Linked DNA regions of Homo sapiens: regions 1 and 3 are each linked to region 2. The links are contacts of gene promoters, found by promoter capture Hi-C in human tissues and cell types (Jung and others, 2019). All regions are on one chromosome and are shown on one strand. Each heading gives the region's core, a stretch centred on a gene start or on the middle of the fragment in contact. The rest is flanking DNA. Distances are from core to core; before and after follow the strand shown.

What was found. The method cuts DNA at HindIII sites, captures the fragments that hold promoters and counts their contacts. A contact is called where the count stands out against the background at its distance.
Region 1: a fragment that was not itself captured here is called in contact with the fragment with the promoter of KIF21A in region 2 in 1 of the 25 tissues and cell types used here (lymphoblastoid cells).
Region 3: a contact is called between a fragment that was not itself captured here and the fragment with the promoter of KIF21A in region 2, in 1 of the 25 tissues and cell types used here (lymphoblastoid cells).

The regions. Positions count from the first base shown.
Region 1 is chr12:40,136,407-40,140,987 of GRCh38, forward strand. No RefSeq gene overlaps it. Among named protein-coding and RNA genes, the nearest start is that of LINC02471, 18 kb to the right of the region's middle. The HindIII fragment of the contact is 6,367 bases long and covers 1-4,581 here.
Region 2 is chr12:39,439,846-39,444,383 of GRCh38, forward strand. It overlaps KIF21A (kinesin family member 21A), which reads right to left and starts at 3,275. Exons shown (of 38, transcript NM_001173464.2): 1 at 3,082-3,275. The coding sequence starts at 3,125. RefSeq lists enhancers at 2,216-2,285, 3,104-3,604, 3,886-3,945 and a silencer at 2,906-3,805. The HindIII fragment of the contact is 12,215 bases long and covers 1-4,538 here.
Region 3 is chr12:38,781,404-38,786,176 of GRCh38, forward strand. The region is part of intron 6 of CPNE8 (copine 8); the gene reads right to left. Among named protein-coding and RNA genes, the nearest start is that of CPNE8, 120 kb to the right of the region's middle. The HindIII fragment of the contact is 6,233 bases long and covers 121-4,773 here.

The DNA of each region.
Region 1 (4,581 bases), core at 1,002-3,501, 700 kb after region 2:
TTTTTATTATTTTTATTTTTTGTGGGTACAGAGAAGGTTTATGTATTTATGGGATACATGAGATGTTTTGATACAGGCGTGCAATGTGAAATAAGCACATCATGAAGAATGGAGTATCCATCCCCTCAAGCATTTATCCTTTTAGTTAAAAACAATCCAATTACAGTCTTTAAGTTTTTTAAAAGTGTAAAATTACGTTACTATTGACTATAGTCACCTTATTGTGCTACCAAATAGTAGGTCTTATTCATTATTTATATATTTTTTGTACTCATTAACTTTCCCTACCTTTCCCCCCCACTGCCCCACCCCCACTACCCTTCCCATATTCTGGTAACCACCCTTATGCCCATGAGTTCATTTGCTTTGATTTTTGGATCCCACAAATAAGTGAGAACATGCAATGTTTGTCTTTCTGTGCCTGGCTTATTTTGCTTCACATAATGATCTCCAGTTCCATTCATGTTGCAAATGACTGGACCTCATTCTTTTTTTTGGCTGAGTAGTGCTCCATTGTGTATATGTACCATATTTTCTTTACCCATTGATCTGTTGATGGACACTTAGCTATTGTAAACAGTACTGCAACAAACATAGGTGTGCAGATATCTCTTCAGTATACTGATTTTCTTTCTTTTGGGTATATACCCAGCAGTGGGATTACTGGACTGACAGACCATTTTAAAAATTCAAAACAAAGTTGAAACATAATTGAGATATTTTTACAAAATTGAGCCAAAATAGAATTTTAATTTTTAGATACAGTAAAATGAATCTATAACTTGGTTTCTTTTAAAAATCATCAAATATTCAGGAATATTAACTAAAATTGACATATCAACAAATGTTTCAAAGGAGAGAATTAACTTGAAAGTGCTTTTAAATGTAAATTGCTATATAAATAGAAAATATAAAAGATAGTTTTACTCAGTTCTTTGTACCAAGCATCATCAGGCACTGAGGGCAAGTCACAAATAAGCAAGGAAATAAACGAACCACAGCCTGTTGTTTCTTTTTAAAGGATGCTGACAGTCACTTCCTGTCTGAGAGCGTGTCATCTTTTGCTTCCCTATTTGAATCAGGATATTCTCGTGACTAGACATGTTTATATTCATGCCCACACAAATGTCTACCAACTGAATGTGTAAGTCAAGATCAAAAAAATTTTCACTAGAGTATACATATATATGTAATACATTACATAAATGAGGAAAAATAAAACTATATGAAAATCTAATGAGATGGTTTCTGTAGTGCACTAAACCCTCTTGTCTAAGAATTAACCAAAATGAAACATAAACATTTAGTAGACTGGATTTATAGAGGAGCATTTTGAATAGTGGGACAATAATTCTGGATTCTCATGTTATAGTATGGTTGGCTATATATTTAAATCTAAACATTTTAGTTGATTAAATTCATTCAGCTATTCATCCATTCAACAAACTTTTATTGCTTGCTACTGCAGCCAATACTGTGTTTGGTTCTAGTACCTCAGAGGAAAGTAAGACATCCCTTTCTCTCAAAAGTCAACAATCTAGTAGAGGAAATAAAAGTAAATCTAGGATTGTGAGGTACTCTGATGGGAAGAGGTGTGTAGAGACAGCTTTAGGTGAACAAACAGGGGATGCCTAAATTGGCCTAGGGCTATGGCTGGAGAGGTGAGGTGGGGTAAGATCAAAGAACACTTTATGGGGGAAGTGATGTTTCAGCTTACTTTTAATGGAAGAAGAGACAATGTGAAGCGTGTTATAAGAAAAAGAAAACTGCTTTATCCATGGGAGAATTCAGTCAATTCTGTTTGAATGGAGAGAAGGATGATTATTGGGAACAATGGGAATGGAGGGTGTAGTGGAAAGTGGGAAGCAAGTAGTATGAGGGTATTTAGGAATGTTTAAAGTTTCTGCTCCTTGTTTTCTTACTGATGGATTTTTAAGTAAAGGAGAAACATAATCAGATTCAAATACTAGAAAGATAACTCTAGTAGTGTAGAGAAGAGAATTGAGTGACAGGAAAACTCATTAGAGTCCATTGTGGTAAACTAGTTCTGGAGCTGAGGCACTGCATGGGGAGAGAGACTGGTCAGGGGTGGTGACCTTCACTGAGATCAAAAACACCCACCCATTGTGGGGAAGGTTGGGGAGGAAATAATGAGTTGGGTTTTGTAACTGTATTGAGATGTATTGTCCAATTATATGGGTTTAGTAGGAAGTTGGATACATGGGAAACAGCAATGCTTAAGAAGAGGGCATAAAGAAGGAAGGATGTGGAAAGAGGGGAAAACCTCGTGATATTTTGCCTTAAATGGTTAATTCTCTTAGTCAAGTTGGTGGCTATGTTTTGACCTGTCTGGTATTGTCAGGTACACATAGCCTTGGAATTTGAATTCTTGTGAAGAGAGAAGGAACAGTAGCAGCTGGTACCCCAATAAGAAACACAGTGAATGAGTTATCGGTTATTAAAGCTTTTGCTTAAAATACTCATAAAAACTTCTGTCTGATACTTGCAAAGAGCTATTAATAATCTTACCCATTAAAGACATACATTGTCATTTTTCCTTAATAAAAATGTATTCTCTGCCACAGCTGCTATTACCTTATCAACATCTGCCCGTGATTGATAGGAAAGTTTGTTTTTAAAATGAAACTAGGATAAAAAGTCTGTCATTTAATATACTTATATGCAATCTGTATCATGATGGATCAATGAATTTATTTTTAATATGAAATCTGGATGAAAATCTTTGGGTTATTAAAAAATTCAAATGTAAATATATTTTAAAAGACAGTCCTATAAATAACAATGTCAGGAATTTAGCAATAGGATTATTAGTTTATATGAAGTCTTTTGATAATGTTTTTTATTAAAACTATGGTTTTACTTTAATAATTGAAGATACTTTGTAGATATGATATACTTGAATTTTCCATTGACTTACTTATATAAAAGTCATTTGTTATGATAGTTACACAATGATATAAATGTACTTAATGCCATTGGACTCTATACTTAAAAATTTTTTAAATGGTAAATTTGTGTTATTTATATTTTACCTCACAAAAAAAAGTCATTTGCAACACGATTTAATATGCTTAGTCTGGACAATTTCTCTACTGTGAAAGTAAAACCTAAATAGTGAATTACATGCTTTGATGTTGCAATGAGAGGGCAGTTGTGCATTAAATAGCCTTTGGGTGCATCAGAGAAAGATCAGAGAAGAATAAATGTCCCAGCCCACCTCTATTACCCTCTGTTGGCATACCTTAAGAAAATAATTCTTTTAAATTATGTCAAAAAAACTGTAATTAATGAGGACACACTTTAAAAGAATGTAATTATTTTGTAAGTTAATCAAGGAGAATATGAAAGGAAGGACAGGATTTAACTCAGAGACTCACTTGATCCCTGTCCTTGGAAGCAGTCTCTCCTTGTTATCGTGGAGGGTAGCACGCTTGGCAAGAATATACATTTGACACACTTGAGATTTAAAAACTATAAACTTGTACTATGGGATTATAGTAGAATTCTAATTAGTAATATTAGCCAGTCATTTTTTGGCCTTTGATAAAGTTTGAGAGAATTTTCATCATTGCCCAAAGAAACTCTGTAACTACAGTCCCATTAGCAGGCAGTCCCCAAAACTGACAGTTCTTCAAAATTATCTGGAGCGTATTTTAATATGCATTGTCTCTCTTTTCACCCTAGATGGACCAAATCCGATTATTTGGGAATGGGGCCTCAGTTCTACATTTCAATAAAGTATTCTGAGTTAAATTAATGTGATCTATCTGTGAACTTTCATTTATGAAACACTGTGTTAGTTCTGTTTCCATGAGGCAAATATATACCTTCAAATTCACCTTGGTGGGCCTAATACAAGGCAGTTTATTCATTTATTCAAAAACATTTTATTGCATGCCTGTTTCACTTAAGTATATCATTGATGAAGTAGTTACAATTATTTGTGTTATTAAATCTCAACCCTTGAGAAAATGTTCTGCTAATATTCTGCGTGATAAAATGGAAAGTATGCATTAGGCACTTCTGCTGCTTACTCAACTATGATGGTTGTCTGGAAGAAAAGCATTTGTGCCAGTGAGTTGCAAATGAACTACACTTTTCTTCAGAAAACACCATTAAAAGAACGAACATTGACAAAGAAACCATGTCTATTCAGACTTGGATAATTGGCAAATATTTTCTCAAAAATGAGCAAAGTGAGTTTGATAATTCAAGGAAAACAACTGACCGCATTTGTTGTCAATGATAAAATTTGAGTTTTCAAGGAAGAGTTACATGTTGAAAAATGTGTGTCTACCAGAATGAACTTGATGCGTCCCAGTAGTTCAAACATTTTGATGATATTGGTGACATTAATAAATGTTCATTTTTGAAATTATAAAATGAAATGTGTCAGCATTTAGAAAATCTGCATAACCCAGTGGAATAATGTTTTCTAAATGACCAACACATGATGTTACAAAATCATCCACACTTTGTGTAAGATAAAACCAATGAATTTTAGTGTAACAGAGAATGAAAAGTTTATTGATGTTATTTTGGATTTCATGCTGCAACTAC
Region 2 (4,538 bases), core at 2,025-4,524:
CCAAAGCCTTAAATGACCCATTTCCTTATCTTGAGAAATCTACAATAGAGTCATCAGCTTTAACATACTAATAAACCTCTAATAAAACATAAGCACCTCTAGGATGCATTTCCACAATTATATTATTCATTAAAGGAAAAAAAGCAGGTCAAATGCTTTTGATTTTGTATATAGACACACGATTTTGTATTGATTTATTTATTCTGCTGAGGAACCCTTCTCAAACTGAAGGGTAGGGTAACAGGAAGCTGGAAAGATTAAATAATTTGAGGAAATATTTTAGTAAGTTCAGGTCCTGTCTTAGTTCTATCTTTTCTAGCAATATCAAAATATGAATAACCTGTGAAAGCCACTCATTTGTAAATGAACTAATACAAAATCAAGAACAGGCAACTGACCCAAAGCTAAGTGAAACTTTGCAAAGCCATGTTCTTGCCTCTCACTTCCGCAGGGTTAATGGTTAAGAACTTGGGCTACTGAGTCAAGCTATCTGGGTTGGAACCCTGGCTCTCTCATTTGTTACCAATTTAACTTTGGATGGTTTACTTAATCTTTCTGTGCCTCATCTGTAAATGGCCATAATAACAGGACCTAAGTCACAGATTGTTATGAGGAATAAATAAGACTTTACATGAGATAAAACATCTTAACACAGCACTAATCCCGGCACACAGTATAAGTCAAACAATTATCACTACTTTTAGCCCAGAAATCAGGATAACAGAGACGGGTATATATCTTCAATAAATAATGGTTATAAATGAACAATATAAGTCCAAACACTTTATAAATACTAAAGTGCTATATGAGTATAAGCTATTTTTATCCTATATAAAGTAAGTTTACAAGGTAGCTCTGTTCAGAGAACAATGTATTTAATGAAAGAAATCCCCGATTTATCCAGGCGCAGTGGCTAATGCCTGTAATCCCAGCAATTTGGGAGGGACGGCTTGAGCCCAGGAGTACAAGACCACTCTGGGAAACATAGGGAGGCCCCATATCTACAAAAATGTATAAAAATTAGCCAAGCAGTGTGGCACATGCCTGTGATCTCAGCTACTCAGCAGGCTGAGATTAGAGGATTGCTTGAGCCCATGAGGTTGAGGCTGCAGTGAGCTATGATGGCACCACGACACTCTAGCCTGGGTGACACAGCAAAACCCTATCTCAAAAAAAAGAAAGAAGAAAGGAAAGAAGAGAGAAAGAGAAAGGAAAGAAGGAAGGAAGGAAGGAATCCTGAATTCAACAAATTGAATCTTTACAATATGGCTTACTAAGTTATGTTGAAGTTTTTATAAAGCCTTTCCCCAAAAATCAAACCCACATTCATTCACCTAAAAAGTCCTAACATACACACCAAAACAAAATACAAGTTATTTATCAGTCAGCATCACTTTAGGGTCATCCATGGCTCTACAGGCAAAGAAGCATCGGATTTAACAGAATGGTCAACAAACTGCCTTGTGATAGTCTAGAGAATTCACATATAAAAATCTCAAACGTCTAAAAACAGACAAATTGTCTGTTTTCAGTAATATTTTATGCACCTTCTTCACTTTCCTTGATCAGATCTCCTAACAAAATTGCCTCTTATTGGGTTTTCTGTCTTTTTCCTTCCCCTTTCTCCACCCTGGTGCAGTCATTAACTGGTATTAAAGGGCCAAAAGAGAGGTAGTAGCAGTGAATAGGAGAAACAGACTAATCTAACAATTGGATAAGTAGCCCTAGAATAACGAAGAAGGCCTAATTAAAACTTCAAAAGCCTTATAACAGGTGATTCTAACCAGTCATAAAACTGTCACCTCCCTGGGTGGTAAAAAAAAAAAAAAAAAAAACACTTAAAAACTCATTTTATTATTTAAGTTAATTAAAGATACAAAGTATACGAAACAGCCATTACTATGCCTGACCCAAGATGTGTCACTAAAATAGTAACTATAGAAATGTTTAGAGGGGAGAATTTTTAGAATAATTTTCTGGAAAGACTACAAGACTGGGAGATTGTTAATAGTTCCTAATTCCTTGGAGTGTAGATTATTTTTATAATCCTTAAAGCATAAATAAGGAGAAGTGAATTAACAGTAGACTCTCAGAGCTGTGAAAGCCACGCACTTACTCTAGGATGAATGCTTCATTAATTTTTCACACAGTGTGATGATGTTGCAATTTTCCATGAGCAACTATCAGAGCTTTCCTTCTTGATAAGTATCAAAACAGCCGAAATTACATCGAATACTCGTGCCTGTCATTGGCCGAAATATAATTTCAATACTAGGATGTACCTAGTATTTCCAGACTCACACCCTGGCCTGGGTAACGTTACGATTACATTGTATCCACCCTGCCTAATGTCAGTATGTTTCACACAGTCACCCATTTCACCCTTCCTCTGGCTAAAGAGTTTTCCTCCTTCTGTAGACCTCTCCCCAGTGGATTTTACCTTAAATTCCACTCCCATTCCAACACCCAAGAGGCTAGATCTGTCTCCTCTACCCACACGCGGGGGCATGTCTAGATCCCCGTGATGCTGAAAAAGATGTCTCATTTGCACAGACATCAGAACCCGAGTGGGCGCGCGGCGGGCCCTGCGGTCGCCGGCGCTGATAGTCAGATGCTTTGTCTCCTGCCTGGGAAGGCCGGAGCTGCATGGACACGTATGACAGACATTCTAGAACTAATAAAAAAGAACACCACAGCCCCGCGCACAGGCAGCTCCTCCCGGACAGGCGATAGCCCAAGGCGGCCAGACCTGAGGTGACTGATCCCGCGAGGGGACGGAGGGGAGTGACGAGGGCTTTTCCCCCAGAGAAGTCAAGACGCCCCCCAGGGACCCGGCGCCGCGCAGCCGCCAGCCACCTGCAAACACAGACGGCGTGAGGGCGGCGCAGTCGCCCTGCCAGCACCCGGCCGCGCGTGCCAGGCCAGCGGGGACTCACTGCCTCAGTTTCCTCAGCCGCAGAACCCGGCCGGGACGCCCCTCAGGTCGCTCCACCCCGGTAGCCGGTGCTCCGCGCCACAGCCAGGTCCTTGCCGCGCCCTCAACCCGCCGCCCGCCGCCCGCCGCCGGCAGACTGTCCTCACCTGACAGCCACCCGCACGGAGCTCTCGTCCGGGGCGCCCAACATGCTGGCGGCGGGCAGCGATCGAGCCGTTGGGCCTCGGCACCGCAGAGCTGAGGCGCCACTGGGGCCGCGGGACTCGGGCGCAGTAGGCTGGGGCGTCTGCGGGCGGGCGGCCGGCTCACCTCCGCCGCGCTCCAGCCATGTTGGGCGACTGAATGGAAAGGTGGCGGCGGCGCTGAGGCAGCAAGAGGAGGAGGTGATTCACGGCTCGCGGGCGCCCGCCCCTTCTCCACCGCTCACCCCCCAGGATCTGGGGCGGGGACAAAGCGCGCTTGAACGGCGAGCGCGCCTGTGGAGAAGCCAACAGGCCGCCAGCGGCCTCAGGGCGGCCGGGTGAGTGCGCCCTGCCCCCTCCGGTGGGGACGCGGCCTCCCAGCGGCCAGGCTGGGGACTCCACGCCCGCCAGGGCGCTCCGGGCTCCTCGCCCCGCACTGCGTCAGCCGCCGCCGCGCGGCTCAGCCCCACCTCGCCCTCCCCCAGCCTGCGCCCCGCCCTGCCCTCGTCGGGACACTGCCTGGCGCTGCTGGGCAGGGAGGCGAGGGGGAGGGATGCCTGCCGCCGGCTGCCCTCGCCCGAGGGCGACCAGCCTGTGCGCCCTTCCAGGCTCTTCTGGGAGAAGGAAGCAGCTAGTGCACGCGCTGCTGCCAGGTCCCTTCTCAAATCGAAGCTTGATTCAGCGGCGCGCCGGGAGCCAGGCAGCTGCTGCTGCGGTTCGGCTTTGTGTCCCACGCATAGCCTTATTGTCCTCTCTGCAGCTTGGACTTTGACCCCCTTCCCTAGCCCCCAGCTGAACGCCCTCCCTCCTCCCTCCCCGGAGTCAGTCATTCATGCTAAACGGACTCCCAGGTTTGTCCACTGTCTCTGGACAGCTGGGCTGTTCTACAGTTCATCGCCCGTTTACCAGCTCGGGTGGGATATGGAAATGATTTATTCGAGACTCCTGAATGCTTTTCTGTTCAATCATTTGTACACTGGTAAATGAACTGCACCCTGGTACTGCCAAGTGTTCCCAGAACTGAATATATCCACCAAGACCTGCTGTGTAGTAAATCCTTCCAAACTGATTTTCTTTCCCTTCTGGCCTTTAAAAAGCACCTCCCAATCCCAGGATTCTCTCAACATTGACCCATTGTGGTTTCTGTTTGTCACTATTGTGCTTCCACATGCCTTCAGATAGCTCTGTGGAAACAGCCTTTATTAGCTTTGCCACAGAGTATCTTTTGTGGACTGCTCCATACATCTCTATAAACAAACATGTGGCTTCATACGAAATAGTATCACAAATTAAATGGCACTATCCAAATAAAGGCACTACCTCAAATGCCTGCAATCTACAATCACATACCTAATCATCTTGTTCAGCAGTGATACAGCAGTGTGGCTCAGAGAAGGCTGCAACACTATGGGAAAAACAAG
Region 3 (4,773 bases), core at 1,987-4,486, 660 kb before region 2:
TAACAAAATTTGATTCAAAAAATTCAAAAGAAAAGAATGGAAAGATATCTCAGAAAATAAAACTAATTCTATTGAAAATCAGTACACCTACATTAATAGCATACATACAGATTTTAAATTGAAAAGGGTTGCAAGAAATAGTTATTGTGTAATGACAAAACATTCAATTAATTGGGAAGATATAGTAACCTCAATACTGCATGCATCTACTATTATAGCTCCAAAATACATAAAGCAAAATTGACACAACTACAAAAAGATAAATACACCATTATGTTGAACAATTTCATGGTAAACACCCTTGGCAAGGTGATCAAGGTTAATATCACCAGTGATAAGTCATATTAATATGTATTCCTGATAAGATGTAAGGAGAAAGACACTTCACTCCTGTGGCCTTCTACCCAAATCCTTAACTCCAATCTAACCATGAGAAAAACATCACACAAATGCAAATTTAGGGACATTCTACAAAAAATCTAATACTTCCTCAAAACTATCAAGGTCATACAAAACAAGGAAAGACTAAGAAATTGTAACATATCAGATCAAAAGAAAGTGTACATCCTGAAATGAATTCTGAATGAATTCTGGTATAAAAAGAACATTAGTGAAAAATGAGTGAAATTCAAGTAAAGTTTGAAATTTAGCTAATAGTAATATATGTACCACTGTTGTCTTTCTAGTTGTGACAAATGTATTAAATACCATGGTAACACAAGATGTTAATGTTAGAAGAAACTGGTGTGACAGGAATACAGGAATTTTCTGTACTATTGTAACTTTTCTATAAACATAAAACTATTCTAAAATACAAAGTTTATTGAAACAATGCAAGGTCAATAAAAGACAAAGGCTAAGAAACGATTTCACGTTAAAAGAGACTAGAATTAAAACAACTAATCTCAATTATGATTCTTAATTAAATTTTAGAAGAGGAAAATATACCTATAATGACATTATTGGTACAACTGTTGAAATGTGAGTGAAGCATAGATTAGATAATATGTATCATTGTGAAGTTTCCTGATTTTGATCATCATATTGTGGTTGTGTAAAAGAATATTCTTATTAAGAAATTCACTCTCAAGTATTTAGAGGAAAGAGGGCATAATTTTTCCAACAATGTCTCCAACTTACTCTCAAATGACTCAGAAAGAAAGACCTAGAATATGAAACAGAAAGAGAATGAGAAAGAGGGTAAGAAAGTGAATAGAATAAAGTTAGCTTCTGATTAAAGTAAACAGGAGTTCTGAACTACATTTTTTGTTTTGTTTTTGTTTTGTTTTTTTTTTGAGACAGGGTCTCACTTTGTCACCCAGTTTGGAGTGCAGTGGAGTGATCAGAGCTCACTTAAGCCTCAAATTCCTGGACTCAAGCAATCTTCCCATCTCAGCCTTCCAAGTAGCTAGGAATACACATATGTGCCACCATGCTCAGCTAACGTTTTTTCATTTTTTTAGACAGGGTCTCACTATGTTGCCTAAGCTGTTCTCAAACTACTGGGCTCAAGCAATCCTCCAGAATTGACCTCCCAAAGTGCAGGAATTGCAGGCATGAGCCACCCCACCTTGACTACTCTCGCAACTTTTACATGCAGTTGAAATTATATCAGAAAAGAAAGTTACCAAAAAAGATCAATTTTAAAGATTGCTTCTTTTAACTGTATTCTTACATTTTGAGAGACATAGAATAATAAAACTCATCCACATTACAGTTAAACATGATCTCAAGAGATTATTAGAGATGAGTAATCCTTCACAAAATTTAGGACATAGATAAGACTGGTGGAAGGCGGAGCAAGATGATGAAATAGAGGGCTCCATTGATCATCCCTCCTGCAAAGACAACTATCTATATTTTAACAACTATCTATACACACACACAAAGCATCTTCATAAGAACTGAAAATCAGATGAGCACTCACAGTACCTGGCTTTAACTTCATATCATCAAAAGAGGCACTGAAGAACTAAGAAAATCAGTCTTGAATCACCAGTGTCACCCCTCCCTAATCCCCTTGCAGCTACACTGTGGTGCTGAGAACATTTCCGTGTGCTGGGGAGAGGGGAGTGCAGCAATGGTGAGGTATTGAACTCAGTGCTGCCCTGTTATAGCAGAAAGTAAAACCAAACCAAACTCAGCTGATGCCCACCCACAGAGGGAGCATTTAAACTAGTCTTACTACAGTCACACAGTCCTAGTGATGATAGCCAAAGACAGGCTTGTGTCACCGCATCCCAAGCTTCAGGTGGCTCAGAACAAAGAAAGAGAGACCCTGTTTGTTTGGGAGAAAGTAAGGAAATAGAACAAGAGTCTCTGCCAGGTAATCCAAAGAACTCTTACAGATTTTGTCCAAGACTATCAAGGCAGTATCTCTACTAGTCTGCAAGAACCACAGCATTGGTGGGCTTTGGCCCCTAAAGTAGATACAGTTTAGATCACAACACTCGAGTTTTCTGAAATATCTGGAAAGTCTTGCCAAGAAGAATGGGTACCAACAAGCCCAGACAGTGAAGACTAAAATAAATACCTAACTCTTCAATGCTTCAATGTTCAATGAACATCTACAAGTATCAAGACCATTAGGAAAACATGACCTTAACAAATGAACTAAATAAAGCACCAGGAACCAAGCCTGGAGAAACAGAGATATGTGAGCATACAGACAGAGAAGTAAAAATAGCTGTTTTGAGGGAACTCAAATTGAAGATGACACAGAAAGTAATTCAGAATTCTATCAAATAAATGTAACAAAAAATTAAAATAATTTAAAAGCATCAAACAAAAATTCTGGAGCTAAAAATACAATTGGCATACTGAAGAATGCATCAGTCTTTTAATGGCAGAGTTGATCATGCAGAATAAAGAATTAGTGAGCTTGAAGACAAGCTATTTGAAAACGGACATTCAGAGAAGACAAAAGAAAAAAGAATGAAAAACAAAAAAGCATGCCTACAGGATCTAGAAAAAAGCCCCCAAAGGGCAAATCTAAAAGCTACTGGCCTTTTAAAAAGGAGGCAAAAAAGAGACAGGAGGAGTAGAAAGTTTATTCAAAGAGATAATAACTGAGAACTTCCCAGACCTAGAGAAAGATACCAATACCCAAGGATAAAAAAGTTATACTACACCAAACAGATTTAACCCAAAGAAGACTACCTCAAGGCATGTAGTAATCAAACTCCCAAAGGTTAAGGATAAAGGAAGAATCCCAAAAGCAGCAAGAGAAAGAAACAAACACCACACAAAGTGGCTCCAATATGTCCGGCAGCAGACTTTTCAGTGAAATCTTTCCAGGACACAAAAGAGTGGCATGACATATATAAAATGCTGAAGGAAAAAAAAAACTTTTTACCCTGGAATAATATACCTGGTGAAAGTATCCTTCAAACATGAATAAGACATAAAGAATTTCTCAGACAAACAAAATCTTAGGGATTTCATCAACACAAGACCTCTCCTATGAGAAATGCTAAAGAGAATATCTCAAATCAGAAAGAAAAGGACCTTGCCTGGTGCGGTGGCTCACGTCTATAATTCCAGCACTTTGGGAGGCTGAGGTGGGCAGATCACCTGAGGTCAGGTGTTTGAGACCAGCCTGGCCAACATGGTGAAACCCCGTCTCTACTAAAAATACAAAAATTAGCTGGGTGCGATGGCACGTGCCTGTAGTTCCAGCTATTCAGAAGGCTGAGGCAAGATAATCGCTTGAACCCAGGAGGAGGAGGTTGCAGAGATCGTGCCACTGCACTCCAGCCTGGATGACAGAGTGAGACTCTGTCTCTGAAAAAAAAAAAAAAAAGGACCCATTAAGGAGCAATAAGAAATCATCTGAAGGTACAAAACTCACTGACTCACTGATAGTAGCAAGTACACAGAATATTATAACACTATAACTGTGTAACTGTGGTGTGTAAAATAATCTTAAGTAGAAAGACTAAAAAATTAACCAATAAAAAAAAAAAACATGATATGGTTTGGCTGTGTCCCCACCCAAATCTCATCTTGAATTATAGCTCCCATAATTCCCACATGTTGTGGAGGGACCTGGTGGGAGGTAATTGAATCATGAAGGCAGGTATTTCCCAGGCTGTTCTTGTGATAGTGAATAAGTCTTAGAAGATCTGATGATTTTATAAAGGGGAGTTCCCCTGCACATATTCTCTCCATGTAAAATATGACTTTGCTAATCATTCACCTTCCACTAAGATTGTGAGGCCTCCCCAGCCACGTGGAACTATGAGTCAATTAAACTTCTTTCCTTTATAATTTACTCAAGCTCAGGTATGTCTTTATTAGCACCATGAGACATACAAGAAGACATATATAGACACAACAAAAAGTTAAAAAGCAGAGGAACAAAGTTAAAGCATAGAATTTAAGAGTTGTCTTTTTGCTTACTTCCTTGTTTATGCAAACAGTGTTAAGTTGTTAAAAGGCTGAAATAATGAGTTATAAGATAATATCTGCAAGCCTCTTAGTAACCACAAACAAGAAAATACAAGAGATACAAAAAATAACAAAGAAAAGCAAAACACTAGATCATATCAACAGAGAAAATCACCTTCAACAAATGGAAGAAGGAAGGAAAGAAAGAAGAGAACACAAAACAACTAGAAAAAAAATAAGAAAATGACAGGTGAAAGTCCTTACTTATCAATAATAACACTAAATGCAAATAAACTAAACCCTCCAATCAAAAGACACAGAGAGGCTGAATGGATTAAAAAACAAAGCCCAATGTTCTGTTGCCTAGAAGAAACACACTTAACT